6 separate regions of the Homo sapiens genome follow, and all the other regions are linked to region 2. The links are contacts of gene promoters, found by promoter capture Hi-C in blood cells and fetal thymus (Javierre and others, 2016). All regions are on one chromosome and are shown on one strand. The core of a region is centred on a gene start or on the middle of the fragment in contact, and the rest is flanking DNA. Distances in the headings are between cores, read along the strand shown. Region 1 has its middle 67 kb from the start of EID3. Region 2 holds the start of ALDH1L2 (aldehyde dehydrogenase 1 family member L2). Region 3 overlaps TXNRD1 (thioredoxin reductase 1). Region 4 overlaps TXNRD1 (thioredoxin reductase 1). Region 5 has its middle 33 kb from the start of CHST11. Region 6 has its middle 53 kb from the start of CHST11.

The links. Contacts are between HindIII fragments. The CHiCAGO score rates a contact against its expected background, and 5 or more counts as called.
Region 1: a fragment that was not itself captured here is called in contact with the fragment with the promoter of ALDH1L2 in region 2 in 16 of 17 cell types (activated CD4 T cells, total CD4 T cells, naive B cells and 13 more); the score reaches 9.9 in activated CD4 T cells.
Region 3: a contact is called between a fragment that was not itself captured here and the fragment with the promoter of ALDH1L2 in region 2, in 3 of 17 cell types (naive B cells, monocytes and total B cells). The highest score is 5.7, in naive B cells.
Region 4: a contact is called between a fragment that was not itself captured here and the fragment with the promoter of ALDH1L2 in region 2, in 15 of 17 cell types (total B cells, total CD8 T cells, endothelial precursors and 12 more). The highest score is 13.9, in total B cells.
Region 5: a contact is called between a fragment that was not itself captured here and the fragment with the promoter of ALDH1L2 in region 2, in 7 of 17 cell types (endothelial precursors, total B cells, activated CD4 T cells and 4 more). The highest score is 7.7, in endothelial precursors.
Region 6: a contact is called between a fragment that was not itself captured here and the fragment with the promoter of ALDH1L2 in region 2, in 8 of 17 cell types (non-activated CD4 T cells, naive B cells, naive CD8 T cells and 5 more). The highest score is 6.2, in non-activated CD4 T cells.

Annotation. Positions count from the first base shown.
Region 1 is chr12:104,368,395-104,372,545 of GRCh38, forward strand. No RefSeq gene overlaps it. Among named protein-coding and RNA genes, the nearest start is that of EID3, 67 kb to the left of the region's middle. RefSeq lists enhancers at 2,888-3,644, 3,645-4,151. The HindIII fragment of the contact is 2,950 bases long and covers 902-3,851 here.
Region 2 is chr12:105,082,173-105,086,578 of GRCh38, forward strand. It overlaps ALDH1L2 (aldehyde dehydrogenase 1 family member L2), which reads right to left and starts at 2,286. Exons shown (of 23, transcript NM_001034173.4): 1 at 2,217-2,286. The coding sequence starts at 2,264. RefSeq lists enhancers at 1,129-1,929, 1,424-1,663 and a silencer at 2,164-2,593. The HindIII fragment of the contact is 2,214 bases long and covers 1,262-3,475 here.
Region 3 is chr12:104,251,773-104,255,808 of GRCh38, forward strand. All of the region lies in intron 2 of TXNRD1 (thioredoxin reductase 1), which reads left to right. Among named protein-coding and RNA genes, the nearest start is that of TXNRD1-AS1, 27 kb to the right of the region's middle. The HindIII fragment of the contact is 8,597 bases long and covers 1-4,036 here.
Region 4 is chr12:104,348,513-104,352,844 of GRCh38, forward strand. It overlaps TXNRD1 (thioredoxin reductase 1), which reads left to right. Exons shown (of 17, transcript NM_001093771.3): 17 at 1-1,795. Among named protein-coding and RNA genes, the nearest start is that of EID3, 47 kb to the left of the region's middle. The HindIII fragment of the contact is 1,164 bases long and covers 1,247-2,410 here.
Region 5 is chr12:104,421,544-104,425,648 of GRCh38, forward strand. No RefSeq gene overlaps it. Among named protein-coding and RNA genes, the nearest start is that of CHST11, 33 kb to the right of the region's middle. The HindIII fragment of the contact is 5,119 bases long and covers 1-4,105 here.
Region 6 is chr12:104,402,009-104,405,886 of GRCh38, forward strand. No RefSeq gene overlaps it. Among named protein-coding and RNA genes, the nearest start is that of CHST11, 53 kb to the right of the region's middle. The HindIII fragment of the contact is 3,430 bases long and covers 1-3,173 here.

The sequences.
Region 1 (4,151 bases), core at 1,127-3,626, 710 kb before region 2:
CAGGTTGAATCCTGGATCTGCCACTTACTAGCTGTGTGACCTTGAAAAAAAAGACTGAGCTTCACTGTGCCCCGAATCCTCCATAAAATGAAAATAATAGTAGCATCTGCTTTAGAGAGTGGGTATGTAGATTAGATGAGATCATACTTACAAAGCACTTAGCACAGTGCTTGGCCATACTAAGAACTTGAAAATGCTAATTGTTATTATTATTATTTACCTCTATGCATATCTCAAGGTCCAAAACAAAAGCTAAGTCAGAAAAGGAGGAAAAAATGCCAGATGCCGGGAGAACATGCCAGCTTCTGGAGTGAGATGCGGAGATTGGGGGATTAGCAGGAAGAAGAAAGAGCCACTGAAACCACCCAGTTATCCCTGCATTTATTTATCCAAAGACCATCACTGAAGGTCTTCTACTTCCAAGCCCCACCTGGGCTTCCAGCCTAATAGGAGAAACAAACCTTAAACAAACAATGGTGCATAAATCATGATTTCATTACAATTGTGATGAGTGAGGCAACATACGGTACAGAGGACTTAAGAATATTTTAACAGGAAAATCACCATAGCCCAGGGCTGGAGGTTGGGAACTGGGGAACTGGGGATAAGAATCCAGAAAACCACCCTGCCCAGCATGCAGAAGGGAGTTAATGGAGAAGTCTTGCTGGGTCGGCCTGTAAGGGATGAGTCCACACAAGCATTTACACAGGCAGAAGGAGGGCAAGGTCATTACATCCCTTTTGGACACAGTAAATGTCCAGTTGTCCTTTTCCCTGCCACTGTATAGTAAGATGGTGGTCAGGACCTGGGGGTGCCAATGACTGATCTCAACCATACCTCTAAGCTGAGAAGGGAAAGGTCACTGATTATTACTTAAGCCAGACTTAAAGAACAGTCCCAAAGCTTCTGACAGCCAAGACAATGTCCTCTTCGCTTTCAATGACAAAGGCCCAACTGAGTAACATATGAACATTGAGGGAGCCAACTGCACACAGACACTTGGACCACTGACCCAGGGAAACTCCTTAACTGCTTGAATGAAGTACCAGTCATTCATGGTCAATAGATTCTTCTGCTGCATGGAATTTCTGCTGGGCTGGTGGAGGCAGCTGAGAAATAATGGGGAGAGGCCAGGACAAAGCATGGAAAAACTTCAGTTACGTTTTGTTGGTTAACAATGGGACCTTCAACAAGACACTCATTGGCTTGGGTCTCACTTTCTTCATCTGAATAATGGAGATAATAACACCTAAGTAGGCACGTTCCTGGCTTTAAGTAACAAACACCCACTAACAGGGGCTTAAACAAATATATGTTCATTTTTCTGACATAAGGAGTCGCAGCCAGTTGGGTGTGGACATTGGAGAAGCATCTCAGTAATGTCAGAGGTTTTGGATCTGCTTCTTTGCAATTTTCTCATTCTTTCCCTCATGGTCACAAAATGGCTGCTGTAGTTCCAGCCATCAAGTCTGTATTTAGTAAGGCAGTAAGAAGAGGGGGTGAAAGATAGGACTGCCTCTCTACCCTTTACACAGCCATCCTGGTGTTGCCTGACACACTTTTGCTTTTAACTCATTGGCCAGATCTCTGTCCTGGGCCATCCCTAGCTGCAAGGGAAGCTGACAAAGTGAGTTTTAGCTTTTCTTTTCTTTTTTTTTGAGACAGAGTCTCACTCTGTTGCCCAAGCTGGAGTGCAGTGGCGTGATCTCAGCTCACTGCAAGCTCCGCCTCCTGGGTTCATGCCATTCCCCTGCCTCAGCCTCCCGAATAGCTGGGACTACAGGCGTGTGCCACCTCACCCAGCTAATTTTTTGTGTTTTTAGTAGAGACGGGGTTTCACCATGTTAGCCAGGATGGTCTTGATCTCCTGACCTCGTGATCCGCCTGCCTTGGCCTCCCAAAGTGCTGGGATTACAGGCGTGAGCCACTGCGCCTGGCCGAGTTTTAGCTTTTCTAATCTATAGAGCACATGAAGAGTGTCTATCTCAGCATATAAAGCAGAGACTCCACTAGGCAGTGAAGGAAGGTAGGCAAAATGGATGTGTGTTTCATATCTGTGCCCCACACCCCATCCAGGGTCCGTCTCTCCCCAGCAGTTGTCATAAGGACTCATTATCATTTAGCCATCATGCAGAATATCAGAGCTGCCAAAAGGGAAAGCAAAGTGAATCGTCCTAAAGCAGCCTGCTTTTTCTTTTTTCTTTTTCTTTTCTTTTCTTTTTTTTTTCCTATTTGGAAGGTTTGGATTTGAAGTAAATCATCATTAAGCAGTCTAAGTATTTCCTTTATTTATTTATTTATTTGTTTATTTATTTATTGAGACAGGATCTCACTCTGCCATCCAGGCTCAAATGCAGTGGTGCAATCTAGGCTCACTGCAGACTCAGCCTCCTCAGCTCAAGTGATCCTCCCACCTCGGCCTCCTAAGTAGCTGGGGCTGCAGGCACACACCACCACACTGGCTAATTTTTGTATTTTTTTGTAGAGAGAGGGTTTCACCACATTGCCCAGGCTGGTCTTGAACTCCTGGGCTCAGGTGATCCTCCTGCTTCAGCCTCCCAAAGTGCTGGGATTACAGGCATGAGCCACCACACATTTTGCTTTTTAAAGCATTTACTTTAAAAATCTCACCTCTTTCAATCCTCGTTCTGTTCATTGTTTGCTCCAAGTTCGAGGGGCCTGTCAGTTCTTCCTGCAAATAAAATCAGTGAACAACCCTGTAGGTACACTTCAAGGTATACAGGGGAGCAGAGAATGCCGCCTGGGTAGGGGCGAGTGTTACTTCAGCGGCAGGGAAAGCCTCTGTCAATATTTGCGAGGAAGAGACGTCTCCAGAAGTAAGAAAGGCCACATTATGGAAATGGCATGTTTTATGCAGGGAGACACTTGAGAATCAGGGAGAGTCAATAAAGGGGCTAAGAAGGGTCAAGAACTTGGGTTTGAGAATAAGGCGAGTCTACTAGTTGAGAAGGAGAATAAGGCTTCGGTAAGCCAGCCCCACCTGCCACCTTGCCACCCCTTTTTAGGAAATAAGGGACAGTTGCCAGGGGCTGTTTTGTGACATAATCTAGAGGTATTTATGCCAAAAGGACTGACGGAAATACCACCACTGCCAACCACGACAGCATCCTGGTTCCCTAAACGGATGGGCTTCTTTGTTTTCCTTTGTCACAAGGAATTAGAGGAATGTGGCTACACCCGCAGCTTCTAACACCAGCTAGCCTGGGTTCACATCCTGGATGAATCACTTACTGTGTAACCTCAGGCATATTGTTTAACCTCTCTGTGCCTCAGCATCCTCAGCTGGAAAATGGGGGTGGCAATAGCAGCACCTCCCTTGTGTGGTTGTCAGGACAAAATAAGTTAACTCAGGGAAGTAAGGAAAGTTAATTAGTAAATAAGTTAACTCTGGGTAAGTAAGGTATCGAGGACGGGGGCTGGCCTCTAGAACGTGCTGTGTTAGTGTTGGTGATTCTTACGTGTGAACCAGCAGCAGATGGAAGGTCTGGCCGTTGAGGGATGCTACTTTTTTCCTGACGATGACTATGAACGTCTTGTGTGGTCTAAGACAGCAGTCCTTTTTGGCATCAGGGACCGGTTTCATGGAGGACGATTTTTTCCACGGTCGGGGGGTGAGGGGGGTCAGGATGGTTTTGGGATGAAACTGTTCCACCTCAGATCATCAGACATTAGTTGGATTCTCATAAGCAGTACACAACTTAGATCCCTCGCATGCCCAGTTCACGATAAGGTTCATGGTCCCATGAGAATCTAATGCCACCACTGATCTGACAGGAGGCGGGGCTCAGACGATGATGCCAGGGATAAGGGGCGGCTGTAAATACAGATGAAGCTTCGCTCACTTGCCCGCAGTGACTCGCCCCACTTCCTGCTGTGGGGCCCAGTTCCTAACAGGCCACAGAGCGGATGAGTACCGGTCCACAGCCCAGAGGCTGGGGACCCCTTGTCTCAGAGACATCTTGAGAACCTCTTTATTTCCTCTTTGTTAATGCAAGAAGTGGTTTTGAAAGCAATTCATGCATTTTCAGGAAAGAAGGCAAAAGAGACTAGGGAAGGGGGTGGGGAAGGCTTACCAGGTGCTGTATACACGACAAAGCAGAAAGGCTGGGAACTACAACTCTGGAGTCAGA
Region 2 (4,406 bases), core at 1,036-3,535:
GACAAAGTGAGACTCTGTCTCAAAACAATAAAAATTAAAAGATAATTTGCATGGGTAAAATGCACCCTCTTCAGTGTACTGTGCTGTGAGTTTTAACAAACACACAGTCACGTAACCACTACCATAATCAAGATGTAGAACAGTTCCATTACCGCCCAAATTCCTTTATGCCTATTTATAATCAATCCTTCCTCCTATCTCCAGCTCCAGACATCACTGATCTTTTTTCTGTCCCTATAGTTTTACTCTTCCAAAATGTCAGATAAATGAAATCATAAAATATGTAGCATTATGAGTCTGATTCTTACACTTAGCATACATATTTGAGTTCCATCCATGTTGTATGCATCAGTAGTTCATTCCTTTTTCCCCCAACTGAGTAGAATTCCATTGTATGGATGGATATACCACAGCTTGTTTATCCTGTCACCAGCTGAGGACAATTTATTTCCAGTTTTTGGCAATTATGAATAAAACCTCTAGAAACATCAATAAACAGGTTTCTATGCGGGCAAATAAGGTTTCATTTCTTTTGAGTAAATACCTAGGAGTGTGATTCCGGGGTCATATGATAGGTTTATGTTTAACTACATATAAAACTGCCAAACAGTTTTCCAAAGTGGCTGTACCATTTTATATTTCCACCAGCCATGTATCTGTTTGATTTTGAATAATTCTTATAAAACACAGTCCAGAACATTTTCTACAGGATAAAACATCCCACATTTTTCATTCACCACTCAGTAGCTTCCTTTCGACCACTGAGGAAACTGTCTTCTTCCCAGCCATGAGTATCACTGCTTTTCCATATGCACCCCTGCGTACAGTTAGACCCTGATCACGCCAGTTCTTCCCCACATCCATAGTTTTGTTTATGCCATTTGCCACCTGAGATGTTTACCTTTTATTACTGAAATCTTATGCAAACCGCACTATCAAAATCTTTTCATTCTGCAAGACTTCCTTCTGGTCACCAAAAAAGACAAGTCAGTGAAAGGTGTTGACAGAGGAGGCCAACAAAACAGGCTCAGGCATTGGGCACAGCCCGTTGCTTTCTGTGCTATCCATCTGGGATCCCATGTGCCACGTGGTGGGGGAAGCTAATGAGGGGTCCAGGAGAGCAGGCCAAAGTCCTAGCAGAGCAGGTCTTCCCCACCCCCACCCCTCGTTTTATAAAAGGTGACTATACCTCAAAGTAACTAGAACTGGTTGCAAAGAGTAAAACGAATTCTTATTATTTGGGGTTGTCTGGGATACAGAAAGCTTTTCCTTTGATGCAAGTTTGGGCCAGTTTTTGGTGCTACTCAAGACTTCTCTCTGCCTCCAAGTTTTTTACATCTGAATATATACATATGTACATATGGCTTTGGCATGGCCGAGAAAAAGAATCGATAAGCAAATTCTTTTATGTACTTCCTATAAAAGATACGATACATAAGACAGTTTTTATTTTTTTTTTTTCTCTCTCTCTCTTCCCTAAACAGTCCCGAGGCCCCCTGGGTGCTGAAGGCAGCACCGCAGTGCAACGTGTCCTCTCTCGGTTCCATTTCTGGAGGAGCTGATGCAATTCCAAGGCGCGGGGCTGGGCCAGAGCTCGGTTCTTGTGCTACAGTAGAATAGTGTTCCAGCGTGGCTGCCTCTGCAGCGCCTGGCAATTCTAGAAATTTTGCCATCTGCAGCTCAGCTCAGGAATACTGAGCTTGCAGCCATCAGCTTTGAGTGCCATTATCTGAACCGGCCCTGCGTGCCAGTCTCGAGCGCTTACACCTCCCAGGCCGCCAACGAGGACCCTATTGACTTGATACTCCCCTCCTCCAGGAGACAGTCTCGGTTCCATATGGCTCCAGCTCTTGACCAGGGATCTCATGATTGAAGTGAAAAAGGAAAGGAAGCAGACTCTGTCCTCCTTACCAAGTGACTGTTCCCACCTTGCCATCCCAGCCAGACTTGACACGTCCAAAAACTGCATCCTCAGCCCCCTCCCGGCAGAAGACAATGGCCTGCGTGCCAGTTCCCATCCGGGACCCTCCCCAAGCCCTCCTCTGAGGTCTCTCTGTTTTTGTTTGTTTGTTTGTTTGTTTTAAACGCTGTCTTGGTGTTTAGCAAAGTCTAAGCATCGCTGCTCATCCCCAGCCCCACCGCCCCGGCCCTCCCGCCCCGGAGTCTGGAAACCAGGACAGGGTGACAGCCGGGACGCTCGCCCGGGCCGGACTCACCCGGCCAGTGGAGAAGCGCCGGAGCGCCTGGCTGCCCCGCCGCAGCATGCTGGAGAGGAGCGCTAGCACTGGCGACGCGGCAGCGCGGGAGGCAGGCGGGCGGCGCAGCCTGGGCGCGGCCTGGGCGCGGCCTGCAGTCTGGATGCCCCGGACTGCCTGGCTCGCGGCTCGCCGCTCTCGGCCTCTGCTAGTCCGCACCCCTCCCAAAGCCCACAGCCCGCGGCCCGCCCCACCCTACCAGCTGCAAGGCCCCGCCCCCTAGCTGTCAAGACCCCGCCCCCAGCTGGAAGGCCCCGCCCCGCCAGCTGGCTGCGTTCGGACAGCCAACCTGGTGCGACCCGGCGGAGCGCGTGGGCTTCCTGGAGCCTGTGGGCCCTGACCCTGGTGCCAAGAGCGCACCCAGTCCCAGGGACCGCGCCTCTCCGCTGCCTGGACTTTCCGCCAATTCCAGCCAAGGTCCAGGTGCTTTCTAACTGTGGGACCCTCTACCAGTTACTCAGCCCCGCAGCAGTGTATACGGATCTACCTTATTAGTGGTCAATCTGACATCCCAAGTGCTGTCCATAGCACAGCCCGTAAAAGGCACGCCTGTAGACAGATAGGTAGTGGGGGCGCCTTCGCTGTGGAGGGATCCTGATGCCTACCTCGTAGGACGGTAGGCCGGGCGCGGTGGCTCCCGCCTGTAATCCCAGCACTTTGGGAGGCCGAGGAGGGAAGATGGCCTGAGCTCAGGAGTTCGAGACCAGCCTGGCCACCATGGTGAAACCCCGTCTCTACTAAAAATAAAAAATAATAAAATAATAAAATAATTAGCCGGGCGTGATGTCGCATGCCTGCAGTCCCAGCTACTCGGGAGGCTGAAGCACGAGGATCACTTGAGCCGGGGAGGCGGAGGTTGCAGTGGAGCTGAGATCATGCCACTGCACTTCAGCCTGGACAACAGAGCGAGACTCTGTCTTAAAAATAAATAAATAAATTGGTGCAAAAGTAATTGTGGTTTTTGCCACTGAAAATAATGGCAAACCCGCAATTACTTTTGCATCAACCTAATAGATACGTGCCCTTCTCCCTCACCTCTCTGGAAAAAACGCTCAGACCTGCTTTAGCTGGACGTTTATCTCAAGCCAGACTTCTTAGCCCAGCATTCAGGGCCGTCTGCAATTTGCCATTTTCTCTTATTTCTCACTGCTCTTTTGCATATGTAATTCTGCTTGACTGCAGTTCTTGCCTATTCCTTCTTGGACAATGTTTCCCAGAAAAGCTTGTCATCTGTCACTTGTAATTATCTTGGCACGACCGTTTCTTTTCTGAAAGGTACCGCTTACATGCTGCCTCCTGGAGGCGCTTTTTTCTGATTCTTTTCTCTCTTAGTCTCCTTATTCCCCATAAATAATTGTTCACTCCTCTTAACAGGAAATAATCTTTGTCTATGCATCTGTTATGGCTGTCTCAATCTGCTACTGGTATTTGTATACCTATTAACGTCTCTGTTGGAAGCTCCTTGCAAGCTAAGTCCATGTCTGATTAATCAGGATTTACAGTATCTAGCACTAACCAGAGCTTTAAAAAAATAATAATAAAATAAAAAATAACTTGTTAAAAAAAAACTTGTTGAAACGGATGAATGTGTTTAAGAGAGTAAGGAGACAAAAAAGAACCATCATTAAAACTTGGAGAATTGCGGTTGGGCGCGGTGGCTCACGCCTGTAATCCCAGCACTTTGGGAGGCCGAGGTGGGCGGATCACGAGGTCAGGAGATCGAGACCATCCTAGCTAACACGGTGAAACCCTGTCTCTACTAAAAATACAAAAAATTAGCCGGGCGTGTGGCGGGCGCCTGTAGTCCCAGCTACTTGGGAGGCTGAGGCAGGAGAATGGCGTCAACCCAGGAGGCAGAGCTTTCAGTGAGCCGAGATCGCGCCCCTGCACTCCAGCCTGGGCGACAGAGGGAGACTCTGTTTCAAAAAAAAAAAAACTTGGAGAATTGCAACAAACATCCAAGGTTTTGCTTTGAGCCCTACATCTTGCCAATTCAACCCACTTTCCTGACTGCATTTTGTGACTTCTTGCTTTTTTAAACTTCCAAATATTGATATTCCCTTTATTTATTCTGATCTGTGTATACTAGAAGGGTGCATAAGGAGGGGTTTTTTTTTTTTTTTTTTTTTTTTCCTGAATGAGGTTCCATAG
Region 3 (4,036 bases), core at 1,237-3,736, 830 kb before region 2:
GAGTGTATGTAGGCTGGGCGCGGTGGCTCACACCTGTAATCCCAGCACTTTGGGAGGCCAAGGTGAGTGGATCACAAGGTCAAGAGATCAAGACCATCCTGGCCAACATGATGAAACCCCATCTCTACTAAAAATACAAAAATTAGCCCAACGTGGTGTCATGTGCCTGTAGTCGCAGCTACTCGGGAGGCTGAGACAGGAGAATCACTTGAACCCAGGAGGCAGAGGTTGCAGTGAGCCGAGATAGTGCCACTGCACTCCAGCTTGGGGGACAGAGTCAGACTCCATCTCAAAAAAAAAAAAAAAAAAAGGAAAAGTATATGTAGGTGTAACTTGCTTCAGAGTAATTGTAAAATGTGGATTTGATAACAAAATATTGTTTGAATAATCTTTCTGAGCTTTTGGGAAGTATGAGACATATTCAGGTAGTCGAGGTCAGGGAAGGTTAGGGTGGGGGAGTTACCAAACCGGTTGATTTGCGGCCCTTTCAGATATGTCTGTAGGGAATATTTCATAAGGAATGGTTACTTAGGGTACTACCAAATTTTGATAAATATCTCTTCATGCTTTGGTTTATTATGGGGAAAATAACTTCACAAAGAATAAACTGTTTCCTACTTGGTTCTTAATCTTAGATTATCAGAGAGAAAAGGTCAGTGGTTACAGCCAAGGGGAGGATTAGTTTAGTCCACCCTGAATAAACCAGGGTGGACTTAACCATTAACGAAGGTGAGAATTGAAAGGCAAACCTGATCTGTCTGGTGCTTCATAGGAAGGCTGAGGGCATTTAAATGTCACTGAAGTTTAGCTCTAGGCCTACACAATGGAGTCTTAGGTAAATATAACTGGCCATCTGTCCAGGTTCACTGAGAGGTTAATTTATTATTTTTTATATATATATATATATATATATATATATTTTTTTTTTTTTTTTTTTTTTTTTTTTTTGAGACGGAGTCTCGCTCTGTTGCCAAGGCTGGAGTGCAGTGGCGCGATCTCAGCTCACTGCAAGCTCCGTCTCCCGGGTTCATGCCATTTTCCTGCCTCAGCCTCCTGAGTAGCTGGGACTACAGGTGCCCGCCACCACACCCCGCTAATTTTTTGTATTTTTAGTACAGACGGGTTTTCACTGTGTTAGCCAAGATGGCCTCGATCTCCTGACCTTGTGATCCACCTGCCTCGGCCTCCCAAAGTGCTGGGATTACAGGCGTGAGCCACCGCGCCCGGCCGATTTTATTATTAAGTTTAATTTTCTCTCAACTTGTCTGCCCCATGACTTACTTTCCAGATCTCAAGGAGTTTGAATTCAGAAGTCTTTTTATTCTGGAAGCCTTACATAGAAATAAATGGGCTTATGGGCTTTTTGGACTCTCTCTCTCTGTTTCTCTCTCTCGTTCTGCATGTGTGTGTGTCTGTGCACACGTGCACTTTTTTCCCAAGTAAAGAAAAAGGAAGGTGGGCGGCAAAAACACTGAGGTACGGAGACCCTTTCATCCTTGTGTCTCTCCTGAACACATTCTGCATCGATGCCACCTTAGGCTTCATCCCTATCAATATGATAGTGATGCCTTTCATGTAGGACATCATATTGGGAGTAGGATTGCAAAGAGGCAGAAGACACAGTCCCATCCCTGGGGGTTTAGCTCAACTGAGGGCAGAACATAGGCTTAAGAAGAAAAATGATCTCAGATAACCCATGCTAAATTCTACATGATTGGACAGGCAGCAAGTGCTAGAGAATTTAGAAGAGGGCTGGGCATTAGAAATCTGCTATGTAATTCTTGGCCTCTAGGGGCTTAATTATGTAGCTCTGCAATTCTTATCTGCTTTTGGGACCTACTGCCCCTCCCCCGCACCGCCTGCCACTTCCTTTTTTTTAATCTTTAAAATGAAGGGCTTGAACTAGTTGCTTATTGAGGGTTTTTTTGTTTTTGTTTTTGAGACAGAGTCTCGCTCTGTTGCCCAGGCTGGAGTGCAGTGGTGTGATCTCGGCTCGCTGCAACCTCCGCCTCCTGGTTCAAGTGATTCTCCTGCCTCAGCCTCCCAAGTAGCTGGGACTACAGGTGCACACCACCATGCCTGGCTAATTTTTGTATTTTTAGTAGAGATGGGGTTTCACTATGTGGCCAGGCTGGTCTCGAACTCCTGAGCTTGTCGTGATCCTCCCACCCCAGCCTCCAAAAGTGCTGGGATTATAGGCGTGAGCCACTGCGCCCAGCCTGAGGGTTTTCTTAGTTCTGAAATTACGTGCTTGTCTAGTCTTTTTCGTTACCAAACAGGTTAAGAGCCTGGACTCTAAAGTCAGAGTGTGGATCTTGGCTCTGTGATTTATCAGCCATGTGACTTTAGTTATTTACCTGTGGTGCCACAGTTTCCCCATCTGTAAAATGTGGATGATAATAGTATCTATATCGTAAGTTTGTTATGAGGATTAAATTAATTAATATTTATAAAAGCCATAGAACATACCTGAGACATAGTAAACACTATATCAGTGTTTGTTAAATAAAAGAACTACTTGCATTTTTCCTTTTCCTATCAGGACTTAAAACCTTGGGTGGTTAATCTTCCTTCTGTCAGTACTGAGGCTAGATTAAATGGTAATCAACAAATACCTGACATAATGCTAAGTACAATTAATCCTATCAGTGGGTAAATAGCTACCATTTGAGTGCCAACTATGTGCCAGGCATTCGGTCACTCTACTCATATTTTCAAACATTATTAAAGAATCGGGAGCTGGGCACAGTGGCTTATGCCTGTAATCTCAATGCTTTGGGAGGCCAAGGCAAGAGGTTCACCTGAAGCCAGGAGTTCGAGACCAGTCTGGGCAGCATAACAAGACTCTATGTCTATGGAAAAAAAAAAAAAAATATATATATATATATATATATCAGCATGGTTTGCATGTGCCTGTAGTCCTAGCTTCTCAGGAGGCTGAGGTGAGAGGATCACTTGAGCCCAGGAGTTAAAGGTTACAGTGAGCTATGATTATACCACTGCACGCCAGCCTTGGTGACAGAGTGAGACCCTGTCTCTAAAATAAATACATATGGGCGCAGTGGCTCACACCTGTAATCCCAGCACTTTGGGAGGCTGAGACAGGCAGATCACTTGAGGCCAGGAGTTCAAGACCAGCCTAGGCAACATGGTGAAACCCTGTCTCTTCTAAAACTACAAAAATTAGCCAGGCATGGTGGTGAATGCCTGTAATCCCAGCTACTCAGGAGGCACAGGCATGAGAATCACTTAAAACTCAGGAAGCTGAGGGGGCAGTGAGCCAAGATCGTGCCTCTAAGCTACAGCCTGGGTGACAGAGCAAGACTCTATCTAAATAAATAAATAAAAAAAATAAAAATTAAGAAATAAATAAATAAACAGAAAATTCCAATTTTAACCCTGCTGTAGTTCTGGAATGAAAAGTTGGGCTAGCGGTCAGGATTGCTACTAGTGGTAGATAGTCAGTATGCTCCTTGCAATCCCAGATCTCTTTGACCTATCATTGTTCTTTTTTTCTTTTCTTTTTTTTAGTCCCTATTATGCCCCAGAATGTTCTTATTCTTACTGTTATCTCTGAAATCTACTAACTCCCTCATTTCCCAGCTCTCCTGCCTATCCCTGAAAATGTAAAGCCTTGCCTATATTTCCCCCAGTTTTACTTAATTAAAACTAGCCTGGGAATGAAGAACTTTTCCTATAACATTTGTTGGTTAGTTATTTGCATGCTTATTTAAACATACAGTTGCCCGAGCGCAGTGACTCACACCTGTACTCCCAGCACTTTGGGAGGCCGAGGCGGGCGGATCACCTGAGGTCAGGAGACCAGCCTGACCAACATGGAGAAACCCCGTCTCTACTAAAAATACAAAAATTAGCCGGGCTTGGTGATGCATGCCTGTAATCCCAGCTACTAGGGAGGCTGAGGCAGGAGAATTGCTTGAACCCGGGAGGCAGAGGTTGCAGTGAGCCAAGATCGCACCATTGCACTCCAGCCTGGGCAACAAAAGTGAAACTGTCTCAACAACAACAACAACAT
Region 4 (4,332 bases), core at 579-3,078, 730 kb before region 2:
CTCTTGGCACCTGCGTGTCCTGTGCTTACCACCGCCCAAGGCCCCCTTGGATCTCTTGGATAGGAGTTGGTGAATAGAAGGCAGGCAGCATCACACTGGGGTCACTGACAGACTTGAAGCTGACATTTGGCAGGGCATCGAAGGGATGCATCCATGAAGTCACCAGTCTCAAGCCCATGTGGTAGGCGGTGATGGAACAACTGTCAAATCAGTTTTAGCATGACCTTTCCTTGTGGATTTTCTTATTCTCGTTGTCAAGTTTTCTAGGGTTGAATTTTTTTCTTTTTTCTCCATGGTGTTAATGATATTAGAGATGAAAAACGTTAGCAGTTGATTTTTGTCCAAAAGCAAGTCATGGCTAGAGTATCCATGCAAGGTGTCTTGTTGCATGGAAGGGATAGTTTGGCTCCCTTGGAGGCTATGTAGGCTTGTCCCGGGAAAGAGAACTGTCCTGCAGCTGAAATGGACTGTTCTTTACTGACCTGCTCAGCAGTTTCTTCTCTCATATATTCCCAAAACAAGTACATCTGCGATCAACTCTAGCCAAATTTGCCCCTGTGTGCTACATGATGGATGATTATTATTTTAAGGTCTGTTTAGGAAGGGAAATGGCTACTTGGCCAGCCATTGCCTGGCATTTGGTAGTATAGTATGATTCTCACCATTATTTGTCATGGAGGCAGACATACACCAGAAATGGGGGAGAAACAGTACATATCTTTCTGTCTTTAGTTTATTGTGTGCTGGTCTAAGCAAGCTGAGATCATTTGCAATGGAAAACACGTAACTTGTTTAAAAGTTTTTCTGGTAGCTTTAGCTTTATGCTAAAAAAAATAATGACATTGGGTATCTATTTCTTTCTAAGACTACATTAGTAGGAAAATAAGTCTTTTCATGCTTATGATTTAGCTGTTTTGTGGTAATTGCTTTTTAAAGGAAGTTATTAATATCATAAGTTATTATTAATATTTTGAACACAGGTGGATGTGAAGGATTTTCATTTAAAAACCAAGTGGTTTTGACTTTTTCTGTTGAATGAACAACTGTGCCTTGTGGAATTTTTGCAGAAGTGTTTATGCTTTGTTAGCATTTCAACTTGCATTATTATAAAGAGGTATTAATGCCTCAGTTATGTGTTTGTCAATGTACTGGCTGAGGATTCTATCTCAGCTGTCTTTTCTAACTGTGTAGGTTGAGTTTTGAACACGTGCTTGTGGACATCAGGCCTCCTGCCAGCAGTTCTTGAAGCTTCTTTTTCATTCCTGCTACTCTACCTGTATTTCTCAGTTGCAGCACTGAGTGGTCAAAATACATTTCTGGGCCACCTCAGGGAACCCATGCATCTGCCTGGCATTTAGGCAGCAGAGCCCCTGACCGTCCCCCACAGGGCTCTGCCTCACGTCCTCATCTCATTTGGCTGTGTAAAGAAATGGGAAAAGGGAAAAGGAGAGAGCAATTGAGGCAGTTGACCATATTCAGTTTTATTTATTTATTTTTAATTTGTTTTTTTCTCCAAGTCCACCAGTCTCTGAAATTAGAACAGTAGGCGGTATGAGATAATCAGGCCTAATCATGTTGTGATTCTCTTTTCTTAGTGGAGTGGAATGTTCTATCCCCACAAGAAGGATTATATCTTATAGACTTGTCTTGTTCAGATTCTGTATTTACCCATTTTATTGAAACATATACTAAGTTCCATGTATTTTTGTTACAAATCTTCTGAAAAAAAACAAAACAATGTGAAACATTAAAATTAAAAGGCATTAATAATATCCACGTGTGCCTTCTTACTGAATGATGGTCTTGGGAGTCTTTGCAAGAGTATTGAGTAGATCTCTGATATTGTGTTGAAAAGCTAGCTGCTGAGTAGGCTCCAATGATGCTATGCTGATTTAAGTATAGAAGAACTAATCAGTTCATTGCCATTTCCCATCTTCTGGCAGTATCAGGCACATAGATGGTCAATAAATGTTTCCAGAAATGTTGATTACCATGTTCAGATTATGCATTCACATGCACTTAATCTTCTTAGGTATCACTTTTTAAGCAGAAACTCCTCTTTTATGTAATCTTTACCAAAAACCTTCCCAGTTTGTACTTGTTTTTGTGGTAAGTAGTTGCAGGGTGCTAGTAATAACAACAGCTAAATGAGTGTTTACTGCAACACGTGCAGGCACTGTGCTTGACACACCCTGGCTGATGTGATCCTTACAACAATCCTATTAGAGAAGGTGCTTTTGTACCCATTTATAGATGGAGAAACAGGCTCAGAAGTGTAAGTCACTTTCTTAGGATTACACAGCCAGTTAATGCATCACGTTTTTGAGGCCAGAGTTGGGTCTGTGACCTCAAAGGCGCTACCTCTTAGTTACCTCGCAGTGCAGCCTCCCATTCATCTCTGACAAATGGAAGCTTTTAGGTCTGCTGCATCAATTCCTGGGACTTCACATTTTCACATGCCGTCAAGCAATGCTGTCTACACGCTTAATAAATACCTTGTCTTGAGATGTTCTAACACTTTCCTAACTGGACTTTCCACCGCCAGTTTACTTCCCACTAGAGCCAGGCTCTTATTGCCTGAACTTCCCTGTCTCAAGCCTTTGAGGTTTTCCCAAGGCCTGTAACTAGACCCACAGTCCCCTGCCAGACCCTGAACCTGTTATCTGCAGCTCTAGCCTGCGCTTTCCCTTGCCTGTTCTGGCTACACCTGCTCTATGTCCCCATATAACTACTAGCCTCCCTCAAAGGTCACCTGCTCTGCGTAACTTCCAGCTGGTTCTCTACCTCTACTCCCAGGGTACTCTGTATTGTCTCTAGAGCTCTTTGAATTACTCTGCATGGAGTGTAGTGTGTGTTTCTGTCACCACCACTAGATAATGAGGGTTCTTTACCTCTGTGTGCCCCACAGCTTCTAGCACAAGGTCTGGCACTACAGAAGCACTTAGAACATTGGTGTAATTGGATTGACAGGTAGAGCCATAACTATCAGAGATGGCCATATAGGAAGCCTTTTAATTTCTTCCTGTTATGTCAGGAGCCATTGATTTAAATGTTAATGAAAGTAGAAAGGGCCTAAACAGAAAAAAAGTCAGCCTCACTAGTGAGGGGGAATGCAAATTAAATTGCAGTGAAATGCAAATCAAGCTGAAGTGAGATACCATTTTATACCCACTGTGAGTGGCTACTTTTTTTTTTTCTTTGAGACAGGGTCTTGTTCTGTTTCCCAGGCTGGAGTGCAGTGGTGCGAACACAGCTCGCTGCAGCCTCTGACCTTCTGGGCTCAAGCCATCCTCCTACCTCAGCCTCCCAAGTAGCTGGGACTACAGGCATGCACCACCATGCCCAGCTAATTTTTTAAGTTTTTGTGGAGATTGGGTTTTTTGCTCTATTGCCCAGGCTGGTCTTGAACTCCTGGGCTCAAGTGATCACCCTGCCTTGGCTTCCCAAAGTGCTAGGATTACAGGCATGAGCCACTGTCCTAGCCTGGATGGTTAATTTTATGTGTCAACTTGACTGGGCTAAGGGATGCCCAGAGAGCTGGTAAAATATTCCTGGATGTTTCTGTGAGGGTGTTTCTGAAAGAGATTAACACTGATTCGAATCAGGAGACAGTAAAGAGGGTCACCCTCACCAATGTGGGTAGGCATTGTCTAATCCTTGAGGCCCAAATCAAACAAAAGGCAGAAAGGTGAATTTACTCTTTGCCCTTGAGCTTGGAGATCCATCTTCTCCTGCCCTCAGACCTTGCTGCTCTGGTTCTTGGGACTTTAGACTCAGATTAGGACTTGCACCCTTGGTTCCCTGGTCTCAGGCCTTCAGGTTTGGACTGAAACTCCATGACTCACTCTCCTGGGCCTCCAGCCTGCAGATGGGACTGTGGGACTTTTCAGGCTCCATAATCACATGAGCCAATCCCTCCTAAAAATCTCTTTCCATATTTTATGTACACACATATGTATAAAATCCATTGTTTCTGTGGAGAGCCCTCATGCACCCATTGTATGGCAGATTTAAGAGTGCCAGTATCCAGTGTTGTCAAAGACATGGAGCAACTGGAACACTTATTATTATTGCTGGTGGGGATGTAAATTATTCAATCACTTCGGAAAACAGTGAAGATCAGCATATCAAACATTTCGAAAATGATTTGAAATTTTTTTACATGTTTTAACAAAGCCAGTTTATTTTGTAGTTTTAATAAAAAAGGTGCCCTTTTTGTCCCTGGATTCACTTAGCATTCATAATTTTTTTTAATACAATGAATTTAAATTGCTAAAAGATCATGGACTGGCTTTCTGGTTGGATTTCAGGTAAGATGTGTTTAAGGCCAGA
Region 5 (4,105 bases), core at 1,102-3,601, 660 kb before region 2:
TGCTTCAGTTTCCTTATCAGTGCAAGGGAGATCATAACAGCACTTACCATAGTGGGTTGTGAGGATTAAATGAGCTGGTCCATGTAAACCACTCGAGATGGTGCATGTGCCTGGTAAGTGCTCAAATGTTAACTATTATTAATTTTATCTTCACCAGCCTTTAGGATATTGTTATTGTCCCCTAAGGCTCAGAGAAATGATGGCCTCTAAGCCATTAGGTGAGGACTCAAGCCCGGCTTTGTCTGATTCTGATCCAATAGTTGTTACACCTTTGCTTCTGGCAACATATTTGTTTACTCTCCCAATTGCCACCAGGGAAAATAATTTCATGGGCCATGATAAAAGCGTGAATGAGATAGTTGCTTTAGATTCAGGCATTTCTAGTACCCAGAAGCCTTAGGCAAATATATCTTCTGGAAATTCTACCTTCATCACCAATTCTTCCACACCTGGGAGGCAGCAGAATTTATCAGGGGCAGCCCAAGGGTTATCATTGACTTTCTCCAATTTCCTTTCCATCCACAATTTGGTTTATCACTCAGTTCATACTCTGTCCAAAAATATGTCCTGGAATCTGTCTTCTCCTTTGAACTCTTATCTGCCTAATTAGGCTTCAGGTTTCCAAGGCCCCCAAGTCCGCCTAGTCAGTGTTGATGAAAAAAGTCAAACTCTGTAAAATATTTGAAGAGATTTATTCTGAGCCAAATATGACTGACCAGTGGCTCATCACACAGTCCCAGGGGATCTTGAGAACATGTGTCCAAGGTGGTCAGTCTACAGCTTGGTTTTATGCATTTTACAGAGACGTAAGACATCAAGCAATCAATACGCATAAGATCAGTCTGGAAAAGGGGGGCAACTCTGGGGGGAGTGGGCTTCCAGGTCATAGACAGATTCAAGAATTTTCTAGTTGGCAATTGGTTGAAAGAGTTATTATCTAAAGACCTAGAATCAGTGGAAGGGAATGTCTGGGTTAAGATAAGGGGTTGTGGTGACCAAGTTTCCCATTATGCAGATAAAATCAACAGAAGAGAATATTTCTGATCAGACGTAAAAGAGTCTATCTGTATTAAGGTCTCTCTTTTTATGTTAATGCTAGTCAGCTGTGCCTAAATTCCAATGGGAGGAGGGTATAATGAGGCATGTCTGAACCTCACTTCACATCATGGCTTGAACTAGCTTTTCAGGTTAACTTTGGAATGCCCTTGGCCAAGAGGGTGGGGTCCATTGGCCAGTTGTGGACTTAGAATTTTATTTTTGGTTTATGTTAGTATTAGTCACACCCAGCTCTTTTGATTTTACTCTTTTTCCCTTTTCCCCCTCTTTCTGGTTCCAAAGACAGCTTTCCTGCAGCACTTCCCTTATTTTGAAATTATTTTTACAAGTCTGTGTTTCCTACAAGGGTAAACTCCTGAAAGACATGGTCTTTTTTTCTTTTAACCTGGAAATGGCTCCTAGGCACAATTAAGACAAGACTAACTCATTAATATGCCTAAAGGAAGAGTCCAGAAGGGGTGTAAGGGGCATAGATATTCACAGAAAGCAGAGACAGAGAAAACACACAAAAAAATGTTGACCCTCTCAGATGAGGAGAGGTTCTTTCTGACTACCTCAAGCTACCTTATTACTTTTTTAATTTGTAGAGATGAGGTTTCACTACATTGCCCAGGCTGGTTGAACTTCTGGGCTCAAGCGATCCTCCCACCTCAGCCTCCCAAGTAGCTGGGATTATAGTAAGTGTGCACCACAAACACATGGCTAATTGTTTAATTTTTTTTTTGTGGAGGTGAGGGTCTCACCGTGTTGCCCAGGCTGGTCTTGAACTCCTGGGGTCAAGTAATCCTCTCACCTCAGCCTCCCAAAGTGCTGGGATTTACAGGCATGAGTCACTGCACCTGGCCTTAGAATAGGAATGTTTCTCAAGAACCACAGATCCCTGCCACTTCAATCATTTGATGACTGAGCGAATGTCTCTCAAATTTAGAGCCTCCTTTGAAGACCTGCCTGGGAGAAACGAATGGGTCTACTTTGCAAAAAGGAGCTATGATTCCTGTGGTGAATAGGAAAATCAATCAGCATTTCTGTTTGTACACTGGCTTAGGGAAAGGCAACTGAGTCCCTACAAGTTGGTTCTGCCCACCTTCTGTTGACATACACCAGTCTGTGAGTCTTCAATGACTTCAGTAACCTCACTGAGGGAGCTGGCCCCATGTCACTATCATGACAGTTAGCAGATCTTTCTAAAAAAAAAAAAAAAAAACAAAACCATGCTGGATCTGATTTTTCCACTCAAGAAGTGCTTTTGGGGCCTTATCAGTCTTTCCATTTCTCCAGAAAGCACTACAAACAATAGTAGCAGTTTCCTTTTTTTGAAAATTTACTCTGTGCCAGGCACATAGTTTTGTTCCTGCCCAGAATACCCTATCAGTCTATTTCAACCCTAGCCATCCTTTAAAGCCAACCATTTGTTTACTTACTCAACATTTACCCAGCACTTTCTAGACGCCAATATATGTGGCAATGTTGAGTTGAGTGAGACGCAGCTACAGTCCTCAGGAGCTCACCGTGTAATGAGGCAGAAACAGAAACTCTCTAATGAAATAGTGCATAATGATAGAGAGACGAACGGGATCCTGTGGGATACAGAGGGTCATATAACCCAGCTTTGCAAGGGAGGCTGATTCGAGAGGCTTCGTGGAGGAGGTGACACATGAGCTGAATAGGAGAGAGACTGTGGAGAAAGGCATCCTTGATCAAGTTAGCAAGTGGAAAACCACAGTGTGTGCAGGGTAAAATGAGCAGTGGTTCCACATGTTTATGGAGGACAGGTAAAAAGCCAGAGTCTACATCCCAGAGGGAGAGAAGAGATTCAACTGTTCCCCCAGTCTTACTTTCCATGCAACTTGTGTGGTGTGAGCATCCTGCCTCTGCACTTAAAGTGCCTAAAAGATACATCATTATATGAAATATCTTCCAAGTACAAGCCTGCTGTTTCATCTTTGGGGACAACCAAAGAAACAGAAATCTGCCCCAGTATTGGAGGGAAAACTAATCATGCTAGCCCTTTGTAGAGATGCAGGAGGAAGACTGTGTACCTGATGAGCATTTAAAGGATTTTCTCAGGTAATTTAAATGTTGCACATCTTTGCTTAGACTTCAGAGCCAACCTCCTCCCGCTGCCATGCAGTTCAAGGGCTTGTCGATGTGTTCACCTGCATTTTGAAATTTTTCCCAATGAGACTGTTAATTGTATTGAGGATGGGTCCTATCCCTGAGACAATGCACTTGCATTTTTTCTGTAGAAGAAATCCTCTAGAATGCACAGTAGGCTGACTGGTTTTGATGAGATACCAGTGAGGGTGGCTTTAATTTAAGCAACATGTATACAATAACATATTCCACCAGAACTAGCAATATTGTCAGGTTACAGGTTTTCAGGGCTCAGGATACCACTAGTGGCCCACTTGCAGGGTCAGAACACACACTGGAAGTTCCCAATTGCTTCTTCATTTACACAAGTTCTGTAGAAGAAACTATCAATGACAAAGCAGTGACATATGGTGGTGAAGACACTCCCTGCACCAGACTAAAAGTTTCAGTACCACGGCCAGGTGGGGAATTAAAAGAAGGAAAAACCTTGTAAACTTGATGTTAGAGTCAGAGAAGGGATGATCCAATGCCTACAATATGAGCTGAGGGCCAAGAATATTTATTATTTCTTTTACTGTTAGTTCAAATGTGAATTTCCTCTGCTCAACTCCAGACACTCAACTCCAATTTTCTGACAGTAACCATTGTAAAAAAATATTGCCACCATCTTTGTCTTTTGGGCTTATAAGTGGACTAAGTTCTTATGCTTGGTTAGGTAGAATCTTTTCAGTGACCTGAAAATGAAGGCATATGCAAATATCTTTAAAATAGTCTTTTTGAAGCTGCACAGAAAGGAAGAGTCGAGAGATCCTTCTGCGGTAGTATTGATTCCTCCCTCCCTCCCAACCAAGCCAGATCTTCAGCAGGGAGCTGGAATTGGGTTTCCAGAATAAGAGGATTGTATCCTAACAGTTCTGGAACTACATGGGGTGACATTCTCATTCAGGTGCCACCC
Region 6 (3,878 bases), core at 209-2,708, 680 kb before region 2:
TTTATAGGTATGCTTTCTTGATGTATTACATATTTGTTTTATAGGTATTTCTTTATTAACAAAGAACCATAGACTGGGTGGCTTAAGCAACATTTATTTCTCACAGTCCTGGAGGCTGGAAGTCCAAAATCAGGGTGCCAGCAGGGTTGGGTTCTGGTGAGGGCCCTCTCCCAGATTGTAGACTGTCAACTTCCTGTTGCATCCTCACATGATGGAAAGATGGCTAGAGAGCTCTCTGGGGTCTCTTTTTTGAAAAAATTTTGTTTATTTATTTATTTATTTATTTTTATTTTACTTTACATTCTGGGATACATGTGCAGAGCGTGCAGGTTTGTTGCATAGGAATACATGTGCCATGGTGGTTTGCTGCATCTATCAACCCATCATCTAGGTTTTAAGCCCTACATGCATTAGGTATGTGTCCTAATGCTCTCCCTCTGCTTGCCCCCCTTCCCCCAACAGGACCTGGTGTGTGATGTTCCCCTCCCTGTGCCCATGTGTTCTCATTTTTCAACTCCCACTTATGAGTGAGAACATGTGGTATTTGGTTTTCTGTTGCTGTGTTAGTTTGCTGAGAAGGATGGCTTCCAGCTTCATCCATGTCTCTGCAAAGGACATGAACTCATTCTTTTTTATGGTATGGTATAGTATTGGTATAGTATGGTATAATATGGTATAGTATTCCATCACGTATGTGTGTCTGGGGTTCGTTTTATAAGGACACCAATTCTATTCATGAGGGCTCCACCCTCCTGACCTAATCAACTCCTAAAGGCCCTACCTCCTAATACCATCCCGTTGAGGTTTAGGGTTTTGACACATGAATTTGAGGGGTCACACACATTCAGACCACAACAAAGTATTAAATACACACACACAAAAACCTCATCAGCCTTATGATTTCAGAGATATTATCACTTAGGACAAGGATTGGTTTAATTATGCAAGTTGGTTAAAGAAAAATGTCAAGTAAATAACAAAAGGTAGCAGGTGGAAATGGCAAAAATTGTGACAGTGACACACAGGCTGGCTTACTCCATGTGGTTATTGTGAGGCTCAAATGACATCGTGTATGTGAAGTCCCTCTCGTGAGCTGGCCTAGGGGGCCAAGGCAGGTGGATCGATTGAGCCCAGGAGTTTGAGACAAGCCTTGGCAACGTGGCAACACCCCATCTCTACAAAAAGTACAAAAAATTAGCCAGGCATGGTGATGTGCACCTGTAGTCCCAGCTACCCAGGAGGCTGAGGTGGGAGGACTGCTTGAGCCCGGAAGGTGGAGGCTGCAGTGATCTGTGATTGTGCCACTGCACTCCAGCCTGGATGATAGAGTAAGACCTTGTCTCTACAGCAACAACAAAAGTCCCTCTCCTGGTCCGGCGCATAGTAAGTATGTGACAAATAGTAGCTCTCATCTTGTAATATGCAACCTGCATTACAGGATGGATTCCACCACCTCTGGTTTGCTGTTTACTTGCCTACTGCCCTTCATCTCTGAATCTCTAGTAGTAGCTCCATGCCCAGCACCTAATGGGGCCACATAAATAGAGACTGAGTGTTAATTATTAAAGGGGCATAACATCCTTTCCAGAATCACAGATTTGAGTACACTGGGCTATGAGCCCTGTGCAGACAAGAACTACATGTGTCTGACTGAGTGCTGTATCCCCAGCATCCAACCCAGAACCCAGTGCTTGGTTGGTGCTCAAGAAATATTTGTTATGAATGAACATACTTATCTGAATTCCTCTCATAGACTCCTACACTGCCCAACCTGGCCTGAGCCTTGAGAACAATACTTCTTAGCTAAAGAAGAGGAAAGTAGTCTGGGCACGGTGGGTCACACCTGTAATCCCAGCACTTTGGGAGGCCGAGGCGGGCGGATTACCTGAGGTCGGGAGTTCGAGACCAGCCTAACCAACATGGAGAAACCCCATCTCTACTAAAAATACAAAATTAGCCGGGTGTGGTGGCACATGCCTGTAATCCCAGCTACTTGGGAGGCTGAGGCAGGAAAATCGCTCGAACTCAGGAGGCAGAGGTAGCAGTGAGCCGAGTTCGTGCCATTGCACTCCAGCCTGGGCAACGAGAGCGAAACTCCATCTCAAAAAAAAAAGAGGAAAGTAAAAGTATGAAGAAGCAAAGTGACTTCACAAAGTCACACAGGTATGGGAATGTGCAGTGGGGTTTTTGAAAGTCACATGGGACATGAAGCAGTTCTTTGCTGTGCAAGACTGTCCCAGGCATTGCCTGCCAATGCCCATGAAAGCCAATGGTGTCTCTAATCATTGTGATAATCAGAGATGCTCTGGAAGATCTCCAAAACACCTCATAGGGACAGTACCCCCCTGGGAACTGCAGATCCAGCCTGTCCTTCCAAATGGATGAAGAAACTAAGACCCATGGAGGAAGACAGGCTTCCTCAAATGATGAAGCCAGCATTTGGAACAAATTCCTGACACTGGATTATGAATCTTTCTCTAGGGCCAGGCAGGTGGCTCATATCTGTAATCCCAGCATCTTGGAAGGCTGAACTGGGAGGATTGCTTGAGCCTAGGAGTTCAAGACCAGCCTGGGCAATAGAGCAAGACCCTGTCTCTATAAAAAATTAAAAAATTAGCCAGACATGGTGGCTTATGCCTGTAGTCCCAGTCACTTGGGAGGCTGAGGTGGGAGGATGACTTGAGCCAAGGAGGTCACGATCAGGCCACTGGACTCCAGCCTAGACAACAGAGTGAGACCTTGTCTCAAATTTAAAAAAAAAACAAAAAACTTTTTCTCCAATCATTGAGAGTAGGACTTGTTCAGATCATAAAGGAAGCTCCTGGAGGGACAGGGGCTTGGGGCCCATCAGGACTCAGCACCGCAGGGTGGTACTAAGGCAACTCCCATGAGCTGATGAGGAGGGAAGCCCCTGGGATGCTCTGGCCTCTGCCCCTGTCCCTTCTCCGCTGCGGCTCAGCCCTGCCTGGGGAGGAGAGCAGCAAGGGGGTGGGAGGGTGTGGGCAGAGATAAATCTGCTCCCAGGCAAAAGCTGGCTCTGACTCCTAATAGAACTGAGATGAGTGCGTGTATTTTAAAGCAAATAAATGTTTCAAGACCTGAGAAGGGAGACGTTAATGGCTCCATTCGAATTCAGCAGAATTTATTTTCCATTAGGGTTGGGCTTTCTGAGAAGCTTGGTTCAATCAAGGTTAGACATGAAAACAGCACTGTGGCTGAGTGGACACCAAGTTCCCCTCCACCCACTGCACCTTGCTTAATTAGAGCTCCTGACCTGCAGCCGCCCTTGGCTGGCCCACAGACAGATGCGCTAGTCTTTTTTGCTCTTTTTGTTTTTTTCTTTTTTTTTTTTTGAGACAGAGTCTTGCTCTGTCGCCCAGGCTGGAGTGCAGTGGCGCGATCTCGGCTCACTGCAAACTCTGCCTCCCGGGTTCACACCATTCTCCTGCTTCAGCCTCCCAAGTAGCTGGGACTACAGGCGCCTGCCACCATGCCCGGCTATTTTTTTGTATTTTTAGTAGAGACGGGGTTTCACCGTGTTATCCAGGATGGTCTTGGTCTCCTGACCTCGTGATCTGCCCACCTCGGCCTCCCAAAGTACTGGGATTACAGGCGTGAGCCACCGCGCCCGGCCACTCTTTTTGTTTTTTTCTATGTTGGATAAGATTATCTTTTCAAACTTATTTTCACAATCAGCACTGAGATGACCAACTAGCCAAGCTGCCCCGTGTGCCTGCCACCTCTCCATCCACGGGTGCCTGCCAGCCGGTAATGAGAAGTTTGCCTTGCCCTTTAGAACCATTATTTTAAACAATGAATGGTGTTTGCAGAAGTGAGATTGCGAATAGAGATTCATAATGAATAGCTTCAGCAATAAT